Linked DNA regions of Homo sapiens: region 2 is linked to region 1. The links are contacts of gene promoters, found by promoter capture Hi-C in human tissues and cell types (Jung and others, 2019). All regions are on one chromosome and are shown on one strand. Each heading gives the region's core, a stretch centred on a gene start or on the middle of the fragment in contact. The rest is flanking DNA. Distances are from core to core; before and after follow the strand shown.

Region 1 (3,069 bases), core at 304-2,803:
TGATGAAACTGACATATAGGCAGGTTAAGAAACTTGCCCAAGTTCACGCAGCTAGGAAGTGATGAAAATTCAGGATTCACATTGAGGAATTCCTTTGTGTGTATGGCGTAACGTGGGAGAGGAAAGAAGTGTCTCATCAGGCAATATCTGATAACAGACTGATAATTTGCCTCAGCATTTCAGCCTCTACTCACCACAAGCCTTAGTTAACAGCTAGATACAGACTATGGAGTGCAGTTTATCAGCACTTTCCGTTGTGCAAACATCAGCTACTTTTGTGTGTGTGAGACAAAAACATCAGCTCTCTTCTACTTCTCTCAATCCCAGCTAATTCTGATAAGGTCTTGGAAGCGCAAAATGATGTCTTCTGGAACGTTCTGAAAGAGACCAAAATCTACCCACACAGCTTCATGAGGATCTGAAGCCTTGCAGTGTATAAATCTTTATCTTTCTCATGTTCATGTCATTGCCCCTTGATATACAGTTGTCTATTGGGCAGACATTGTTAAAAGTAAATAAATTCTTAAAATTAAAATTAAATTCCTATAAAGATCTTTTTTTGGTGAACAATTCATGCTGGAAAATACTAATGAAACACAAAGGAAGAGGAATTTTGCTTGTACGTGGTCAATGCTATTGCATTCCAGAAAGAATACGTTGAAAGGGGGACTTCTAAAATTTTAGCATTTCACTATATAATAACACTTTATTTTTTAATATATTCAAATTTCTGGATCTAGTGGAGTTCACAATGAAATATATATATATATATATATATATATATATATATGCACATGTGTCTTTTAAATATTGCTGTCCCTCTAAAAGAATCAGTAGGTAAAATTATTTCTGTAGTTTAAAAGTTCTGGCTAGGTTACAAAAGACAGCAATTGTTAAACAACTTAACATTAAATATTAAAGACTAAATGTAGCATTTAAAGCATTAAGTTTAATTGTGTCTGGCTTCATATAATTCAGTCCTTGGTTAATACAAAGTTAGTATATTAGAGTACAAAAATTAATGAAGTTTCAATTTGGAAATTAAACAGTATGTGTTTCTAGACATAGAAAGATGCCTGGAATTTTACCTTTAGGATTTTATCTGTAGCTGGCAGCCTATTAAAGCTGTTTCCGCGTGCCTTTTTCTCTTTTGTGCCTACGTCACCGATTTAAGGTTCCTATTTATTTATTTATTTTTAAGAAGAAAGAAGAGGTTCTGTAGGAAACATTGACTGTATCCGACAACCATAGCAGGACTAGAGAAGGACCAATGAGGGGGTGCTGGGGGTAGCTTTAAGAGGCGAGGTGGTAGCAGAAAAGGATAAGAAGAAAGATAATTCAGCAGTCCCCTATAATCTTATTCCACCCAAGAAATTTGGGAGAATGCGAAAAAGCAGCAGCCCAGCATTCCCGGATGGGCGTGGCTTTTCTCCAGGGGCTGTCCAATTGAATTCCTTCAGAGGGAGAAGATTGATAAGGGTTGCTAGGAAACAGGAGCGTCTGCCTCCCGCCTGACCCAGAGATTGTTCTGCACAAACCCTCTCCAGGGGCTCGCAGTGTGCAGTTGAGTCGCGAGTACGGCTGAGCTGCGTACCGGCCTCCCTGGCTCTCACACTCCCTCTCTGCTCCCGCTCTCCTAATCTCCTCTGGCATGCGGTCAGCCCCCTGCCCAGGGACCACAGGAGAGTTCTTGTAAGGACTGTTAGTCCCTGCTTACCTGAAAGCCAAGCGCTCTAGCAGAGCTTTAAAGTTGGAGCCGCCACCCTCCCTACCGCCCCATGCCCCTTCACCCCACTCCGAAATTCACCGACCTTTGCATGCACTGCCTAAGGATTTCAGAGTGAGGCAAAGCAGTCGGCAAATCTACCCTGGCTTTTCGTATAAAAATCCTCTCGTCTAGGTACCCTGGCTCACTGAAGACTCTGCAGATATACCCTTATAAGAGGGAGGGTGGGGGAGGGAAAAGAACGAGAGAGGGAGGAAAGAATGAAAAGGAGAGGATGCCAGGAGGTCCGTGCTTCTGCCAAGAGTCCCAATTAGATGCGACGGCTTCAGCCTGGTCAAGGTGAAGGAAAGTTGCTTCCGCGCCTAGGAAGTGGGTTTGCCTGATAAGAGAAGGAGGAGGGGACTCGGCTGGGAAGAGCTCCCCTCCCCTCCGCGGAAGACCACTGGGTCCCCTCTTTCCCCAACCTCCTCCCTCTCTTCTACTCCACCCCTCCGTTTTCCCACTCCCCACTGACTCGGATGCCTGGATGTTCTGCCACCGGGCAGTGGTCCAGCGTGCAGCCGGGAGGGGGCAGGGGCAGGGGGCACTGTGACAGGAAGCTGCGCGCACAAGTTGGCCATTTCGAGGGCAAAATAAGTTCTCCCTTGGATTTGGAAAGGACAAAGCCAGTAAGCTACCTCTTTTGTGTCGGATGAGGAGGACCAACCATGAGCCAGAGCCCGGGTGCAGGCTCACCGCCGCCGCTGCCACCGCGGTCAGCTCCAGTTCCTGCCAGGAGTTGTCGGTGCGAGGTAAGGGTCCCAGAGGAGGACGTGTCCCTCTGGAGGGCGCCCAGCCAGGGCGCGGAAGCTCGGGTGCCGCGTGGGGCAGGCGCAGCCGGGAAAGTTGAGGTAGAGCATGGACCAGTCCCTACAGTCCTGACTGGAGTGGGAAGGGTGGAGGGCAGAGGCGATGTGGGTGTGCATGAGTGAGAGTTTGTGTGTGTGCGCCCACGTCTGTGTCTGGGAGGAGGGAGATTTCAGGGCATAGATCTGCGGCCAGGGTGCGAGAGGTGAAGGGACGAACTAGCACTCGCAGACCCCAGAGAGACCAGTCTCATCAGCCAACCACCTCCATCTCAGCTCTGGGCTCAGAATTTGTTTCTATTTGGGGGCTCCCTAAGGCTTTGTGCACAGGAATCCGTGGATACGGGCGGTTTCATGTGGGTGTGGAGGTTGCAGGCAGAGGTGGGCAACGGTCAGCGAGACCTGGTCCATGCAGCCCAGATAAGCTCCGAAGCCGGAGGCGGCCAGAGGTTTGCCCTCCCGCAAGCAGGGTTGGAAAGGAGCCTTAACTCACTGCCC
Region 2 (3,069 bases), core at 381-2,880, 42 kb after region 1:
TGTTTATAAAACTACCTAGCACATTATTTGGCACATGGTAAATATTCAATGATATTTTTCTTTCAATGCACAATGTAGTAAATAAATGTCTACAGAATAAACGATTTAATGAATGATCAGATGGCAACAAGTCTATGTTTCTAACCAATTTTCAGACTGCTTTATGATTCTCGAAACTTTCACAACCTATATAACTAGTAATCTTCCATATCCTTAATTTCCCTCTTTCCCCTCAAAGCTTAAAATTCTAAGAAAATGTGTCTTCCATTATCCCTCTTGCTCTTTAGCAGTATCTGAAGAATATATTGTAAAGTGAACTTAGCAAAATTTCTAGCTAGTGTTAAAATCGAAAATATGGTAACAGTGTTTAATCACAGAATCAAGGAATAATGACATCCTATTCTTCAAGAATTCAGGTTAATTAAGATTTCACTGAATATTAAATAAAGAGTCCAACAGCCGGATTTTAAATCTCATCTCTGCCACTTTCTAGCTTTGTGACCATGGGCAATTTATTAGACCTCCCTGTGCCTCAGTTTTCTCATCTGTTACATGTGGATAACAAGATGACCTATATCAGAGAGATGGTATGAGGATTAATTGTGTAAAGTACTTATAGTAACTGAGAAAAAGGAAGCATGCTATCCATGTTATCACTAATTACTTCCTATTTGTTTGTTCAGACTGTTACTTTTGTTTTCTTATAGATTGAAAATTGTTGCTAGGTTCAATTTCTCATTATTTAAAATATCTCAATATCCTCATATTTGCAGCATGACTTCCATCCTCAATTAATGAACTACAAAAAATGAAATAGAAAACAGTTAAAGATGTATTGAATTATCTGAAGTTTTTCAAGTACCAATTAAAGCACCAAAGACAGTTGGTATGGCATACATTGTTCCCTTAAAGGTATTCCTAAATAAAGCTTTGAGAACATAGTAAGTTTTGTTTTTTTTAAAACTGCTGTATCATATTACCAGTAAAACTTACAGATTGGTTTCTAACCAGAAACAAAATAAGTCTATGTAGACAAGGCATCATCGATTAGAAAAAACAGAAAAGCAAGCCCTGGTGTTCTTAGTGAGAACCTGAAACAAGCTCTGGCACCTGTGTGTGTGAGCAAGTGGGCTTTCTCTCTTGCTCAAGATAAAGGACATTCACTTTCGAAACAGCATGATGTCACCTTAGTGTCAGACAGATCTGGATAAGCAGCCAATGTGACCTGAACTAGTTCATTCTCCTTTCTCAGTTTCCTTATCTATAAAGGTATAAATGGGGGCCGGGCACGGTGGCTCACGCCTGTAATCCCAGCACTTTGGGAGGCCAAAGCAGGTGGATCACAAGATCAGGAGAAAGAGACCATCCTGGACAACAGGGTGAAACCCCTTCTCTACTAAAAATACAAAAAATTAGCCGGGCATGGTGGGGCGCACCTGTAGTCCAAGCTACTCACAAGGCTGAGGCAAGAGAATTGCTTGAACCAGGAGTCGGAGGCTGCAGTGAGCCGAGATCGCACCACTGCACTCTTAGCCTGGGCAACAGAGAAAGACTCTGTCTCCAAAAAAAAAAAAAAAAAAAATACTAATAACTACACCAAAGACCACTGTGGGAATTTAATGAGATAATACAATTAAATCCTTGAGCACCGTATCTGGCAAATAATGAATGCTTAATATATGTAGCTTAAAATAATAATTATCAGTTTAAATAATGAGCAAGATAGATTAGTTATGTCAGACTCTCACACTATAAACCATTAAACCCCTGGACAAAATATAAAAACTGAAATTGAAGTCTCTAAAGAACTATGAAAATAAGCAGCAAATTAAGCGGCTATGATCCTAAAGGAAGACATATGCTTTCAGTGGGTATTTCTCCATAGACACGCTCCAGTTTGGCATGGGAGAACAGAGCTCAATCAGAATGAAAGTCTCTTGCTTCACTGAAGAGACAAATATAAGAGTTTAGAGCTGCCAGAAAAGTGAGAAGGGGCAAAATTCAAGCAAGAAGGTAGCCCCAGATGAGGGAACCCTAAAACATGGTTCCAAAATTTTTCTTGTGTGATACACAGGGCAAAACTCCAAAAAAGGAAACAATATAAATCACCAGGGGGTTGCAAAGATATTTCAGAGACGTTTTTAAGGAAAAACAGTTTAGTATTTGAGTGCCTCAAAATTACAAAGGTTTGGTAAAAACTTCAAGCTTTGAGTTGAGAGTCTATAAAGCCTCACTCAAGTGTAAGGGCAAATATTATGTAATCAGCCCTAACAAAGACTAAAAGCAACCAACTAAAAGATCAAGATAAAGCATTACTGCTATAGCTGACAAAAAACAAAACAAAACAAAAACTTGATATTTAACTTGTCTATAATATGCACATTGATTCAAAACATACAAGGCTTGCTAAAAACAAGCTCATCAGCAAATAAAAGAAACGCAAAAAATAGAAACAGACACCTAGGTATTTTAGATATTAAAATTATAAAATATATTTTTAAATAGCAATGATTAATATATTCAAATGGATAGAGGAAAGAATGGAATTTCAGTGGAAACCTGAAATTCATAAATGCATCAAACTGAAATCCTGCAACTGAAAATATAAAAATTGAAATTAAGAATTTAGTAGATGGGTTTAATAACAGATTGGAAACATCAGAATAGATAATTTAGTGAACTAAAGACATGTCAATAAAAAGTGCTGTGATTAATCCCTATAAAAGAAAAAGTAGAAAATCTAGGAAAAAAGTCAGGGAAATATAGGATTCCATGAAAAGCTCTGATATACATGTAATCAGAGCACTAGAAAGAGAGAACATAGAATGCTAGAACATAAATGATTGAAAAATACTGGCCAGAAATTTTTCAAAATTGATGAAAAATGTCTGATTTTATAGACATAAGATCCAAAAAGCTGTCCAAACACAAAGCACAATAAAGGTGAATAAAACCACACTTAGGGACATTATGGTAACATTATTAAAAAACAAAGCAAAGAGCATTTAAAAAGTGCCTGGGGTGTAGCCAGGGTACATGTTATCTTCAGTTTAAGAAAAACTAATTTTG

The links. Contacts are between HindIII fragments. The study calls those that stand out against the background at their distance.
Region 2: a contact is called between a fragment that was not itself captured here and the fragment with the promoter of GRM3 in region 1, in 1 of the 25 tissues and cell types used here (liver).

The regions. Positions count from the first base shown.
Region 1 is chr7:86,642,356-86,645,424 of GRCh38, forward strand. It overlaps GRM3 (glutamate metabotropic receptor 3), which reads left to right and starts at 1,554. Exons shown (of 6, transcript NM_000840.3): 1 at 1,554-2,517. The HindIII fragment of the contact is 12,420 bases long and covers 1-3,069 here.
Region 2 is chr7:86,684,345-86,687,413 of GRCh38, forward strand. All of the region lies in intron 1 of GRM3 (glutamate metabotropic receptor 3), which reads left to right. Among named protein-coding and RNA genes, the nearest start is that of GRM3, 42 kb to the left of the region's middle. RefSeq lists an enhancer at 1,217-1,296. The HindIII fragment of the contact is 5,408 bases long and covers 1-3,069 here.